Linked DNA regions of Homo sapiens: region 1 is linked to region 2. The links are contacts of gene promoters, found by promoter capture Hi-C in blood cells and fetal thymus (Javierre and others, 2016). All regions are on one chromosome and are shown on one strand. Each heading gives the region's core, a stretch centred on a gene start or on the middle of the fragment in contact. The rest is flanking DNA. Distances are from core to core; before and after follow the strand shown. Region 1 holds the start of MRPS22 (mitochondrial ribosomal protein S22). Region 2 holds the start of NME9 (NME/NM23 family member 9).

The links. The method cuts DNA at HindIII sites, captures the fragments that hold promoters and counts their contacts. A CHiCAGO score of 5 or more calls a contact.
Region 1: a fragment that was not itself captured here is called in contact with the fragment with the promoter of NME9 in region 2 in 1 of 17 cell types (total CD4 T cells); the score reaches 6.0 in total CD4 T cells.

Annotation. Positions count from the first base shown.
Region 1 is chr3:139,339,515-139,346,741 of GRCh38, forward strand. It overlaps MRPS22 (mitochondrial ribosomal protein S22), which reads left to right and starts at 4,506. Exons shown (of 8, transcript NM_020191.4): 1 at 4,506-4,684. The coding sequence starts at 4,513. It overlaps LOC124909439, which reads right to left and starts at 1,359. Exons shown (of 2, transcript XM_047449421.1): 1 at 1,056-1,359. The coding sequence starts at 1,184. RefSeq lists enhancers at 4,564-4,653, 4,613-4,907, 4,884-4,983, 4,994-5,113. The HindIII fragment of the contact is 595 bases long and covers 5,127-5,721 here.
Region 2 is chr3:138,328,172-138,335,543 of GRCh38, forward strand. NME9 (NME/NM23 family member 9) reads right to left here and starts at 1,680. Exons shown (of 11, transcript NM_001349018.2): 1 at 1,132-1,680. The coding sequence starts at 1,164. LOC124909438 (a long non-coding RNA gene) reads left to right here and starts at 1,762. Exons shown (of 2, transcript XR_007096113.1): 1 at 1,762-1,999. The HindIII fragment of the contact is 16,828 bases long and covers 1-4,859 here.

The DNA of each region.
Region 1 (7,227 bases), core at 4,174-6,673, 1.0 Mb after region 2:
ATAACTCCAGGGTTAGAGGAACTGACTCATCCGCCCCCACTGGCTTGTGGTGGAGGACAGTCTCCCTCCTTCTCTCTTTTGGGCCATATTCTGGCTCAGAAGTCAGTCTATGTAATTTCTGGAAGTGTCAATGTTTTTCTTCACCCCATAGAACACATGTAGAACAGAGCTTTTCCACCATAAGAGCTGCCAGGTACCTCAGAGTTCAGCCTTGTCACTGCATGGAATAAATTGGGTGGTCATGCGCAAGACCCATAACTTCAGAGCCTCAGTTTATGCATATAAAAGATGGGAATATCAGTGCCTGCCCTGTCTGCCTCACTAATTTGCCATGAAGACTAACAGGGCTGATGAGAAGACAGTGCACTCTGAGTGAGAGGGAAGGGGCTTGGGCCATCACATCTTCAACCATTCCTACCATTGTTCAAGGTTTTTTTGCTCAGGCAAACCCTCACACAGGCTTCCAGGAATGTCTTCTGATGTTTCCCCTCTTTCTCTGGAATTATCTCCTCTTCTGCACTGCTACTGACTGTCCCACTGCTCAGCAGGTTGCATCCCAGCCATGTGCCCAGCCCCAGCAGATACTTCAAACTGCTCATTCCTATAGCTCCCAACACAACCGTACCTCTTCTCGACCAATGATTTTGCTTTCCAGTGCTCAGAAAAAGGGACAGAGAGGCAGGAAGGCTCTCTGATTCTCTCCCCAAAACGTATCCACTCTAACCATCCTTAACTCCTGGCCTACTGGTGCAAAGGCTCCTTTGCATCTACTACCAATGCCTCCACTTAGAATCTTCATCCCCTGAAGCTTCCTCAGGGATCCACAACATCACTTGTCCCTTCTCGTTACTGGATCTTTGGTTTTTTCCTTGCTACCAGTCCCTTCTCAGCACACAAAGGGGAATTTCGGCCATGGAATTTGTGTCTCTGTAGGAACATGTAAGAGGTTTGGACTTTGAATAGGGGCCAGAAGAATAAAAACTCTGGGTGAAGTCAAAAGTGGGGTGGATGTGGACCTTTTGGGAGGCCTCAAGGATAGGGAATTGAAGACTTACAGAAGTCACATGAGTGTGGTTGCTGGAGACCGCAGGGGTTCTTGCGTTGTCCAGACTGTCACCTTTCTTCCTTGGGCTCTGTTCTTCCTCTCTCCATTCCTCTCCCTGACTTTTATCCCCTAACCCCATCTTGACTTCTAAAAGCTTAGGATAAAATATATCTTTTAAAAAACAGAAGTCCAGACCCTGTTAAATCACTGAGAGTGGGATAAGGCACTCCCCACTGAGGCATCACTATACTTTTGTTTTACAAATAATAGAAAACCATGCTTGCTCCACAGAGCTGGTGAAGATATGACCTAATGAATCCTAACAGTAGCTGCAGCCAGATAGCCTTGGGACTGTCAGTCAGAGGGCCAACCCTCCCCAACCCCCAGTGGTGAACAGAACCCCACCCAGGCCAATCAGCCTCTCTCACCAGGAACTTAGATTGGATGGAAGGCAGGGAGTTGGAACCAAGCCATTAGGACTGCAACCTCCTGGAGAGATCTCTTGAGTTCCTGCCTCTGGGGTTCTTGGAGCTGCCATCTTTCAAGTCCTTCCTGAGGCTTGGCTGTTGAGCTTTTTCTTGAATTCTGTGAGATATTCAGTATCCTTCCAATTACTCCCATTTCAGTTTTACTCAGGAAAGATTTGTTTCTTGCAACCAGAGTACTTCTGAATACCATCCTCAGAAAGTAACTGACTTGGGTGCCATGGCTCATGCCTGCAATTCCAGCACTTTGGTAGGCTGAGGCGGGCAGATCACTTGAGCCCAGGAGTTCAAGACCAGCCTGGACAACACAAAAATTAGCTGGGCATGGTGGTGTGCACCTGTAGTCCTAGCTACTTGGGAGGCTAAGGTGGGAGGATTGCTTGAGCCCAGGAGGCAGAGGTTGCAGTGAGCTGAGATCATGCTACTGCACTCCAGCCATGGTGACAAAGTAAGAAAGACCCTGTCTCAAAAGAAAAAAAAAAACGGAAAAGAAAAAAAGAAAGTAATTGACTTGCCACCACACAACCTTCTCACACCATCTTTATGAAACACCAGACATCAGATCCTGAAAGTACTTTATTCTCAAAGTTTGCAAGATAAGTATTGTCATTATGCCCATTTTGCAGGTGAGGTACTGGGGCTCTGAAAGATGTGGGCATCTGCCTGAGGTTATAGCTTAAACCAGGAATCTTCATTACTCCATATCAGTAAAACTCACTGTACCCCAAGTAAAAGAGGTCATTGAAAGGAAAGTGGGAAGCTCTCTGGCCAAGACACCACCTTTCTCCATCTCTCTCCGTACATATTCTCCCATCTCTGCTTCTGAGGATCTGCTCCATTTTCCTGCCTCTCTCTGCAGAGTGGCTTTTCCCTGCTCACTCATCAGTGAGCACATTGCTGAAAAAGGCTGCTTCAGCCCAAACCCTAAATACTTAGTTATTCACTTCAAGCTTCCACCGTCGACTATTCTATGTCTCATAGTTTGAATTATTGAGAAAAAATCTGCTTGGTGCCTGGTCATCTGGGGTAGGCTGAAGAATGCCCCCATACTTCCTCCCAAGTATAACTGCACTCTAATCCATGGAACTTGTGGATGTTACCTTATATGGAAACATGGTCTTTGCAGATGTGATTAAGTTAAAGATTTTAAAATGGGGATTATCTTGGATTATCAGGGTGGGTCAGTGATTATGCAATCACATACATCCTTATAAGAAGAAAACAGAGGAAGATTTGGCACAAATAGAAGAAGAGAAGCTGATGTGAAGATGGAGGCAGAGATTGAAATGATGCAGCCACAGGCAAAGGAATGTTTACAGTCATCAGAAACTGGAAGAGACAAGGGGCAGATTCTTCTCCAGAGATAGACTCTAAGGGGAGCAGAGCTCCCTTGATTTCAGCTCAGTAATACTGATTTCAGATTTCTCATGCGGAATTGTGAAAGAATACATTTTTGTTATTTTAAACCATAATATTTGTGGTAGTTTGTTATAGCAGCCACAGGAAACTAATGCTAATACAGCAGCCAATGGATTCATTCATCCTGCACTAAGTGTCCAATCAGCTGTGTCCAGGAGGATGTTTACAGGAAAAACATAGCCACTGAGGCCTGCTCCCTCAGCTATGGGAAGAAAGTAGAGGGTTCATTTTCAGAGAAAAGGCATGGGCTGGGAGACACCTGCATTCATCCTGCCACTAGTCTCTGACACCTGCTATCATGTAGGTGTAAGCATTGGGAAGTGCAGGGCAGCAGACTTGCCTAAATAGGCACCAAGCCTAGTGCTCTCCCTTCCCCTCCCAAATAGGGAATGAGTTCATAAACAGCACTGTTAATATTAATGCTAAGTTGGGGGAAAATAGCTGAGGCTGGAAGGTGAGTCTATTCATCCAGCTAAGTCAAACAAGAGTTTACTAACACCCTGTTTTCCCAGGCCTTGGGATAAGTGCTTAGCACAGGCACCAATCTATAGTCTAGAGAAGGATAAGACCTGCACATCCTGGATAGCTGGAAAAAATGTAAAGAATCATTTAATCATTCATTCATTTATTCAACAAAAGTTTGCTGTGCACGTAGATGTACTAGGCTAGGTGATATTGCAATAAAATATGTAGAGTCACTGTGTTCATGGGGTGAGAAAAAGAAATAAGCAGATAAAGAGCAAAATAACAGATTATAAAATGGGCTATAAAGGAAAGGAATAAGTGTTGAGACAGAGAATCAGGTGTATGAATTGGCAGTGGCAGTGGTGGTGGTGGTAATCAGGGCTTGGAGTCAGGAGTTAGATTTAGGGTGCATGTGAGCAGTGTGGATGGAGAAATTTAAGAAGTAGTTGGATTTAAACCTGAGGATGGGGGAGAAGGTTTGGGCAGGAAGTGGAATACATAAATTATGTATTTATTTGAGACAAGAGTCTCACTCTGTCACCCAGGCTAGAGTGTTTGTTTGTTTGTTTATTTGAGATGGAGTCTTGCTTTGTTGCTCAGGCTGGAGTGCAATGGCACGATCTTGGCTCAATGCAACCTTTGCCTCCTCGGTTCAAGCGATTCTCCTGGTACAGGCGCCCGCCACCATGCTTGGCTAATTTTTATATTTTTAGTAGAGACGGGGGTTTCACCATGTTGGCCAGGCTAATCTCGAACTCCTGACCTCAGGTGATCCGCCCGCCTTGGCCTCCCAGACTGCTGGGATTACAGGCGTGAGCCACGGCGCCTGGCCGGAAATTTGTTATTTAGAACGATGGAAACGGGTAGGAAAAAGAGCATATAGGGAAAAAGGTGTAAGTTTTAACTTTATGCATAGGGAAGGACATAAACACCGTCTACTTGTGAATAAGTAGTTTAGAAGAAACAATCTATAAGGGCCCGGAAGACTTCCGGCCCTTTCCGCCTTTAACTAGACTACATTTCCCAGAGTGCTGCAAGAACTGGGTGTGACTCGGAATCCCTCCCAACCACTTCCGGCGCAAGTGGCTTCTGATAATCATGGCGCCCCTCGGAACAACTGTATTGCTGTGGAGCCTCTTGAGGAGTTCTCCGGGCGTGGAACGGGTCTGTTTCCGGGCTCGAATCCAGCCCTGGCACGGTGGCCTGCTCCAACCGCTACCTTGCTCTTTCGAGATGGGGCTGCCACGCCGCCGGTTCAGCTCCGAGGCCGGTAAGTGACCTTCCGGACTTTCGCTGGGGCGTTCTTCTGGGAGACGTAGATCCTGTTTCTGGCAGGCGAAAACCACGCGATAGCCCCCGCGACACGTATCCTAGCGCTTCCTCAGATTCAGCTGTCTTCCTTCTGTACCTGTAGAGTTTGTCATCACCTGCATATCTGTTCATTCGTTCACTCACTCAACTACAGTGCCTGAGTTCCGCTCCGTGCAGAGCACTGTGCTAAGCTCTGTGGGATATGGCAAACTAAGACTGACACAGACATTTCCCTGTGGGAACTCATGTCCATGGGGAATTGGCAGTGCAGTGTGACCCGGGTTGTTATAGGGGACGCACACAGGAGAGGCACTCAAACTAGGTTGGAAGGTCAGGGAAGGGTTCCTGGCAAATATGACCAAAGCTGAGATCTGGTTAGCCATGCTAAGGAGAAAGCAAGAAGCTTCTCAAGCATAGGGGACAGTAGCAGATGTCCAGAAATGAGACTGAGCACAGATATTTGGGAACCCATTTTGGAGGTAGGATTGATAAGGCTTGATTAAGGCTTTGGATATGAGTTTAAAGGGACAAATTAAGATTGTTTCTTAAGTTTTTGATTGGAATAGAGGGTTGTCCCATTTACACCAAGATGAAGAAGATTAATTAATTGTTGGAACCGTTATTTTGGGGGCGGGGGTAGTGCAGGAGTAGATGAGATCAGGAGATGGGAAAGGAGGCGGAATTAAACCTATTTGGGACACATTAAATTTGAGGTGACTTTAAGAGTCAACTGTTTAGTATGGAGTTAAATATAAAGTGAGGAACATCGGAGTAAAAATGGTAACTAAAGGTGAGTGAATGGGTGAGACTGAGGAGAGAGTAGTGCTGAGCACTTGCTGTGTGCTGGATACCCTGAGGAACCCTGGGTGCCAGAGATGAGTATAAGACAAGGTCTGGTCTTCATAGAGCACATCACTTAGTGAGAGACATAGTGTAGGTAAGCAGACCACCTTAACTTTTTTTCTAAATGAGGTTGGAAGCCATTCGTGAATTTTAAGCTTGGGAGTAATCTTGATTACATTTTAAAGAGATTACTCTGGTTGCTCTGTGGAGAATGATCTGTAGTGGGGCCAGAATGGAGAAAGGGAGGCTGATGCAAGAGATGAGGATAGCCTTGACTAGAGTAGTGGCAGTGGGAAATGGAGGATTAAAATGAGATTTATGAAGGCAAACAATCAGTATGTTCTCTGCCAGTGGTGTTTTTTTTTTTGTTTTTTTTTTTTTTTTGTAAAATTGGGATAATCTTCGTGTTTACCTCATGGGTTGTTGTGAGTATTAAATGGGCTGAATGTGTAAAGTACTTAGCTCAGTCAGTATTGGCATGTAGTAAATAGCTAATAAATGGTAGCTCTTATAATTACTGTTATTATTACTACAGCTATTTGATTACTGTTGTTGTTATTACTACTGCTATTGGCTAGATCTGGAGGATCAGGGAGAATTTAGGAATGGCTGTAAGATTTCTGGCCTGTATGGCCTACTGGATGATGCTGAGATAGGGAACAGAAAATGCAGGTTTGAGACAAGGGAAAGTTGATGGGTTCTGACTTGGCAGTATTCAAGTACATGAGAGAGGTTGAGTAATTGGATGGAAGGTGATCTTGGCAGGAGATTCAGATTTTAGAGTTTCTGGCATATAAAGGTAATTGAAGTCGTGGCAGGATAGGAGAAATCATCGAGTAAGAATCTGAGAAGGGAGAAAAGGACATCGTTCAGAATCTGTAGGGATACCAACATTTATAGGAGAAGAAGAGGTGACTAGGAACAAATGGCTTTTTCTTTCTTTTTTGCTAATGGAAATGGAAGTAGAAGTTAGGCAAAGCAATAAGCAAACTGCATGAGGCTGAGCTAAGATTTGATTCTCTGCTTATGTCAAAGGCTCTTCCATGATAACACACGGCCTCTTCAGTATCATGTCCAGTGAACCAAGCCTCTTTCCTAGCTGCAATCTCTTAGCCTAGACTTTCCCTCCCTTTTTTCTCTGCCGTGATGAGGCTCTTGGGACGCTTTCTTTGACCCTGTCATGCCCATCCCTAGTCCAGGCTATGCTTAGTTTCTTCCTCTGCAATCACCCAAGCCCCGTACCTCTCCTGTATACCATACCTCTCACATTATGTCTCCCCACACCTCCCACTTATACCGAGGAGCGCTATGATAAATTGGAAACCATCTAGGATCCAGAACCAGACAAACCTTGGTTTAAATTTTGACTCTATCACTTAATAGCTAGTTGTCTTTGGATAGGCTTCAGCATCCTCATTTATAAAATTGGGTTTATCAGTACCTATTTTGTGAGTGGTTATAAGCATTCCTGAAAATGTGTGTTATACCTGCCATATAGGAGACAGCTCTGTAAGTGGCAGCAACCATTACAGTTATTACATTAATTACTTTATTACTGTTACTTCCTCTAGTAGTCTGTCCTTTTGGCAGAGACCGAGTCTATCTCCTCATCATAATGAGTGCTCAGTAAATCTTAAATGAAGAAATAAATGAATGCAT
Region 2 (7,372 bases), core at 430-2,929:
AGGCTGGAAGAAGGCCCTTAGGGATAATTCACACAACATCCTCATTCCATAGATGGGCAAGCTATAGCCTGGAGAGGTTATGTGATGTAGTCAAAGACACAGTTGGCTATAGAGGACACAAGAACTACATCAGGTCTTCTGACTTCCAGTCTAAAAATCCCACCCCACCCCACCCCACACCCCTCCCACCCCCAGCATGGGGTACCCTTAGAATGATGCTGCTTTCCCCTTTCCTCTTTTTTAAACCACTAGGCTTTTGAAATCCACATGCAAACTGCTGGTCCTGCTGAGGACAATAAGAGAGAAACCAGATGTCTCAAAACCACTAATGCTCTATTATCTAGGAGGCGCTGTAGCCTTGGTATGCATCTTACTGGGGCCAGCTGATGATGAGGCATTTTAAGTTCGTTTTAAAATGTTCCCATGTTGCAGATCATCCAGCTGATCTCCTTATGACCAAGCACTCTCTCCTAATTCCAGGGTCTATGCCTGCATGTTTTTACCATCACTTCAGAATCAACCACTATCTATTGTCCAGGACCAAGAAGAAGAGCAGCTGCTGGCTTCTGAATTCACTTGTCCCACATGCAAATGAAGTAAGACACTCTATATAACATATGTCCAGCACATAATATATCTCAAAACATATTTGTTAATAAGTGAAATTTGATGAGAACAGTGGTGGGAAAACTGGGTCTCCACAGAGCACACAGTTACAGACTCATGCCCAAAGTCAAAAGAACCTATACTGTATTCTCTGTGCAAGCTGCAGTTGTATTTCAACAAGAACAAAATAACGGTCACATCGAGTTATGTTGATTCGTATTTTCTTAGTTTATAGTTTTATTTAATGCATGTTTAGGTTTTATGGTTGTATAAGCACTATAAATGTAAACAGCTTCTACTCAGTTTTGTTTGCATTAATTTTGTTTGCGTAAAATTTGTCATCACTGGGGTTCCAAGATAAGTTTTGTCCCTTTAAGACGGAAGGGTACATCACTCAAGTTTGAGAACACTGTCACGTACTGCTGGCAAACAGAATGTCACTTTTATACTGCAACCCCGCTCTAATCACCCTCCTCTTCCCCGAGCCCAACCCAGAGCTGGAAGCTAGCGCCCCTTGAGGCTTACCTGCAGGGCAATTTCCTTCTTCCTGCTGCCCATGGCTCTGCAAAGAAGACGAAGCCCTGTTACCGCGGCCGTGGGCCGTTCCCCCGCAGCCTCGCGACAAACCGCTGCGTGGATCAGCAAGCCCAGAGCCTCCTTCAGACAAGCCCCCCTCCTACGGCCCCCGGCCCCTTTTTAAGGTGCTTCTAACTGGCGGCAAATCAGCACACTGATACAAAGTGAACACCCCGCGAGGAAGCGGAGCCTGCAGTCCACGGGCTCGTGGCTCGCCGGGCGGTTTTCTGGGGATCTGCGAAGCCCCCTCCCCACCCCGGAGCCGGCCAGGGGGCGCGCGCAGAGGCCGGAGTCAGTGCGCCGGGCGCGGTGCAGCCTGTCGGGCACAGGGTCGCCAGTCGAGGAATTCTGACAAAAAAACGACATGGGACCCTGTTATCCCTGCTGTTCTTATGGATTACTGGGAAAGTGAGCCACTGCGAACGACAGGTACAAGATCTTCGACGCGCCCGGAGTCACCAACCGAGTCTGCCGCGACCTAGCCGCGGTCGTCATGGCAACCTGGCCCCCCCGCCAGGCCTGCCAGGAAAGCCGGCGGACACGTAAGCCACGCCCACTCTGGGCCCAACGCAGTCTCTCCGCGGAGGCTCTGAACCCAGCCAGGGAGAGGCAGGAGGGAGTCCCGCCCCTTGCCCTCCATATCGGACCATAGGAACCCACTCATTGGCTGCAGTGTTTGTCAGCGTCTGGAGGCTTCGAACCCACCAAGCAAAGACCCAGTGCATCTGTGCGTTGCACAGTCGCATCTGTGAATCCCTGCATCCCTCCTGCCCTGCCTGCCAAGACTGATGTGCAGCTTTTCTACCATCACATACCGGTATAATGTGTGCAAGGTGGGGGGTGTCTCCAGGTTTTGAGGGATCTGCAAGCGTTCTCTTTAAGGCAAAGAATATGAAATTACAAATTCAAAATTAGATATGAAAGTCAAGTGAGACACATACAAAACAGTTACAGACATTGTAGATATTAATCCAACTGTATCAATAACCACTTTAAATGTGAATAATCTGATTACACCAATTAAAAAAGAGATTGTCAGAATGGATTTCAAAAACAAACAAAGCCCAATCGTGTGTTATCCACAAGAAAATACATTAAAAGCAAAAGGATAGAGAAAGCTATACCAGGCTGACACTAATTAAAAAAATAGCTGAAGTAGGTATGTTAATTTCAAGAAAAGCAGACTTCAGAACAAGGAAATTTATCAGGTATAAACAGGGACATTACATAAAGTTAAAGGGATCAGTTATTTGGGAAGACATAACAATACTTAATATGTATGTACTTAAAAACAGAGCACCGAAATATGTGAGGCAAAAGAAGATAAAACTGCAAGGAAAAATAGGTAAACTCAGTATTATAATAGAATGCTTTCATACCATTTTTAAAAAGTAATTAATACATCCAGCAGAAGCAAATGAGCAAGGATATAGTTGAACTGAAAAATATCAAATTGATCTAATTGACATTTATGCAATATTTAGTTCAACAACAGCGGAATATAGATTCTTTCTCAAGCTCACATGGGACATTCACTGAGATAGACCACAATCTAGGCCATAAAACATAGCTTAACAAATTTAAAAGGATAGAACAAAGTATGTTCTCTGACTGCAATAGAATTAAACTAGGAATCAATCACAGCTGATGAAAGAGATCTCACAGATTTAAATAAATGAAGAAATATTCCGTGTTCATGGATAGGAAGAATTAATATTGTTAAGATATCAATTCTTCCTAAGTGAAGCATACACCAAATGATTTCCATCCAGGGAGTGCTGATACCCTGTTTGGCCATGAGGTACCCAGCAACCCTCTGTGAAGTACAGGGCGATGGGTATACTGGAGACCGAACATCTTCCTACCTGTCATCCTGCCTTCTCCCACTTCAGCTCCGAATCCACCTACTCTTTTCTTGCATTCAGTCCCATGGCAATATTCAGTTCCATGATAATATTACGCAGAGCCACAGGCAGTCCTTAAGACACCACATTGCAAACTGAGTTGACTAGATGCAAATCATGTTCATTGCCACAAGGTGGTGGTTGCTGAAGCTCTTGAATGGTGTGGAATCTCCCTTAGAATTTAGTTTCCAAAATAAAATTCAAATCAGATGCTAAATTCCTCTTGCCAGCACATGGAAAGATAGTGACATTTATTCTTTCTGAAAGGGTTAAATTTCTTACCATGTGGTCTCTATTACAAAATGTACTCACATCTTTGCCAGGCTAAACCTCAGAAACAAATTTAGGTAAACCACATGTCCCAGTTTGCCTGGGACACCCCCACTTTTCACCTGTTGTCCCATGCAATTATTAATAGCAACCCCTCTCACTTTCAAAAGTGTACAGTTTGGGTAGGGTGCAGTAGCTCACGCCTGTAATCCCAGCACTCTGGGAGGCCGAGGCAGGTGGATCACTTGAGGGCAGGAGCCTGGCCAACATGGTGAAACCCTGTCTCTACTAAAAAAAAGTATCAAATAACTGGGCCTGGTGGTGCATGCCTATAATCCCAGCTACTTGGGAGGCTGAGGCAGGAGAATCACTTGAACCCAGAAGACGGAGGTTGCAGTGAGCCAAGATCGTGCCACTGCACTCCAGCCTGGGTGACAGAACAAGACTCCATCTCAAAGAAAAAAAAAATTACAGTTTGGACAACATGGAACCTCATCAGTTTTTTCCCAGATGAATCACCTTGGGCCACTCCTGCTTTTTAATAAAACTTCCATCTTTTACATGTTTTGTGACACAGGTGAATGGTTTTTTTTGTTGTTGTTGTTTTTGTTTTTTTGGTTTTTTTTTGAGACAGAGTCTTGCTCTGTCACCTGGGCTGGAGTGCAGTGGCGTGATCTCAGCTCACTGCAACCTCCGCCTCCCGCGTTCAAGCAATTCTCCTGCCTCAGCCTCCCGAGTAGCTGGGACTACAGGCATGTGGCACTATGCCCAGCTAATTTTTGTATTTTTAGTAGAGATGGGGTTTTACCCCGTTGGTTGGCCAGGATGGTCTAGATCTCTTGACCTTATGATCCGCCTGCCTCAGCCTCCCAAAGTGCTGGGATTACAGGCATGAGCCACTGCTCCCCGCTGGGTCAGTGTTTTTATTTATTATCCAAAAGTCAGATTTTTTCAAATGTATCTATTTTTAATCAGCCCTTCCCTCAGTGATGTACTTTTTTGTTTGTTTTATTTTAATGCAAAACCTGCTAACTAAATTTAAGGGCTACTGAGGTGTTTTAGAGTTCAAAAGATTAAAAACCAAACTCTTCCTCCTGCAACTCATGTTTATTGCCACAAGGTGGTGGTTTACTCAAAATAAACCCTTCTGAGACCCAAATTGGACACTAGGAGCATTTTCTTTATCAAAATGCTTCAGAACTGATGTGACTCTGTAAAACAAGAATGACCCTCCTCACTTTAAGAGGAAATCATAGACCAAAGCAGGCTGTGCTTCCTCGGATGCCTTCCCGTTTTTCATCGTAGAAGATAAGAATGTATATACACATCTTCGTCTAACCTAACTCCTCTCTCCTTCCAGGTGTAATGTCTTCTTTTTTCCACAAGTAACAGCAGGTCCCTCCTGTGCCTTGCTCTGAGGAAGGCAGCTGGGAGTGGTAGAACTGGGAACTTTAGGGTCAGACAGATGTGGGCTGGATCACAGATACACCTACTACCTGTCTAAGCTTGGGTGAAGCTACTTCAGCTTATTCAGTCAGTCTTAGTTTCCTCATCTTTAAATTTTTTTTTTTTTAAAGAAATGGGGTCTTGTTATGTTGCGAGGTGCCTGGAACACCTAGGCTCAAGCAATCCTCCCACTTCAGCCTCCCAGGCAGCTGGGACTGCAGGTGTCCACCACCATGCCCGGCTTGTTTCCTCATCTTTAAACAGGGAAATAAGACCTACCTTTCAGGAATGTTGTGGAGAGAGGTAATGCGTTTCAAAGTTTCTTGACATTAAAACCAGTATTACTGTTGGCCGGGTGCAGTGGCTTACGCCTGTAATCAGTCCCAGCACTTTGGGATGCCAAGGCGGGTGGATCACGAGGTCAGGAGATCGAGACCCTCCTGGCTAACGTGGTGAAACCCCGTCTCTACTAAAAATACAAAAAAAAATTAGCTGGGCGTGGTGGCGGGCGCCTGTAGTCCCAGCTACTCGGGAGGCTGAGGCAGGAGAATGGCGTGAACCCGGGAGGCAGAGCTTGCAGTGAGCCGAGATTGCACCACTGCACTCCAGCCTGGGCAACTGAGCAAGACTCCATCTCAAAAAACAACAACAACAACAAAAAACCCAAAAAACAGTATTATTGTTGTTGTTGTGAAGGTATCATGCCCCCTTTCCACAGTATAGATACGTTGGGCAGCAGCTTCCCAGCCAAGGATTGCAAGCCATAACTCCCCAGGAGGTTCATCCAAGTTGTTGTGTGGATCAATATTTTAATTCCTTTTTATTACTTCGTATTCCATGGTCTCAGTATATCACCATTTGTTTCAAATTAATATTTGAGTGGGATATGAGGTTTTTTATTTCCCCATATGGATTTCTGGTTGCATAAGCACCATTTGCTGAGAAGACTTTCCTTTACTTCACTGGATTGATTTGGTGTCTTTGTCAAAAACCAACTGGCCATGTAAGTGTGAGTTTCCTTCAGGATTCTCTAGTCTATTCCGCTGATCTAGTTGACCATCCTTATACCAGTACTTGATTACTAGTTGTATAGTAAGTCTTAAAATCAGGTAATCTAAGTCATCCAACCTTGTTTTTCTTTTTCAAAATTATTTGTCTATTTTAAGTTCTTTTACTTTCATACAAATCCTAGAGTCAATCTGTTAATATGTCTGTCTTTAAAAATCCTCTTGAAAATTTGATTAAATTGCATTAAACCTAAAGATTGACTTGGGAAGAATTGACATCTTAATAATGCGGAGTCCTCCAGTCCATAAATAGGATGTGTGTTCCATTTATTCTTTAACTTCAGCAATGTTTTATAGTTGTTAAACCAATCTTGCAAGTCATTTGTATTCATTATGCTATTATTAATGAAATTGACTTTCAAAATTTATTGCCAATTTTGTGCTGCCAGTACATAGAAATACAACTGATTTTTTGTATATTGACTTTGTATTCTGAGATCTTGCTAAACTCACTTATTAGTGCTGGTAGTTTCTTTGTTGATTGTGAGGGTAACTTTGAAAACACAAGATAGTGAGCCATAAAATGGAAGCAGCTAGTCTGAGCCTAACAACCTGCCTTGGACTGTGTTGCATTTTCTTCGTGTCGTAGTAGTCATTGGGGGTTACAATCAAACTGCTCATCTGTATTGTGAGTCCCTGTAGGGCAGGTTGTCCCAGCTACTTCCTAGTGAATCTTTTTTAATGAACCTCAGGTTTCCATCATGACCTGAACGAATGAGCCCTATGCTGCCCACCATTCATGCTTACTGAGAAGTCAGAGGAGATGACAAGGAGACTTCTACATGTTGTAGAGGAAGCTGACCATAGGTCCCTCCTGTTGACCGATGTTTCTCCATGGGTCTCTCATGCATCTGCATATTTTTCAAGCAGAGGCACTGACTGCTTTATTCCCAACAGCCTTTCCAGGAATGTTTATATAGTGAACAACCTTGAAAGATAGAGGTAGTATCTCCTTCTAAAGCAAAGGAAAGGTTTGTTTACAGCCTTGGAAGTTAGAGATAATGTCTCCTTCTGTAGAAAGCATACTTAACTCTTCAGTGTAAAAGCTTTGGTTTCTTGAAGCTAGGATTCTTCTCCTATAACACAACCTGCTGCATGTGCAGGTGTCACCTGGCCCTCTCTGCATTGTCCTATGGGAATCAGTTCAGGAAACCTATGCAAAAATGCTAATACTTTGGTTATTGCTATTGCTTTGAATAATAAACTATCCTTCATCTCTGACCCAGGAGCGACTTATATGTTCTTTCAGCATCCATGATTATGGAAGAATAACTTGTAAGCTTGCAAGGAGGGTAAAATCTCAGATGATTTACAGTTCTTGACACCTCCCTAGAGGTAATGAACTTTGCCCTTGATTGTTGAGCCTCCTAGAGAGCATGCTCTTCCAACCTCCCATTAGAACTCCTTGCCCATACACTTGAAACTTTTGAGGCAGAGCTAGATTTCAGTCAAGCTACAAAGACCTCATTATCGAGGACCACACTCCTCCAGTGTTTCACCCAA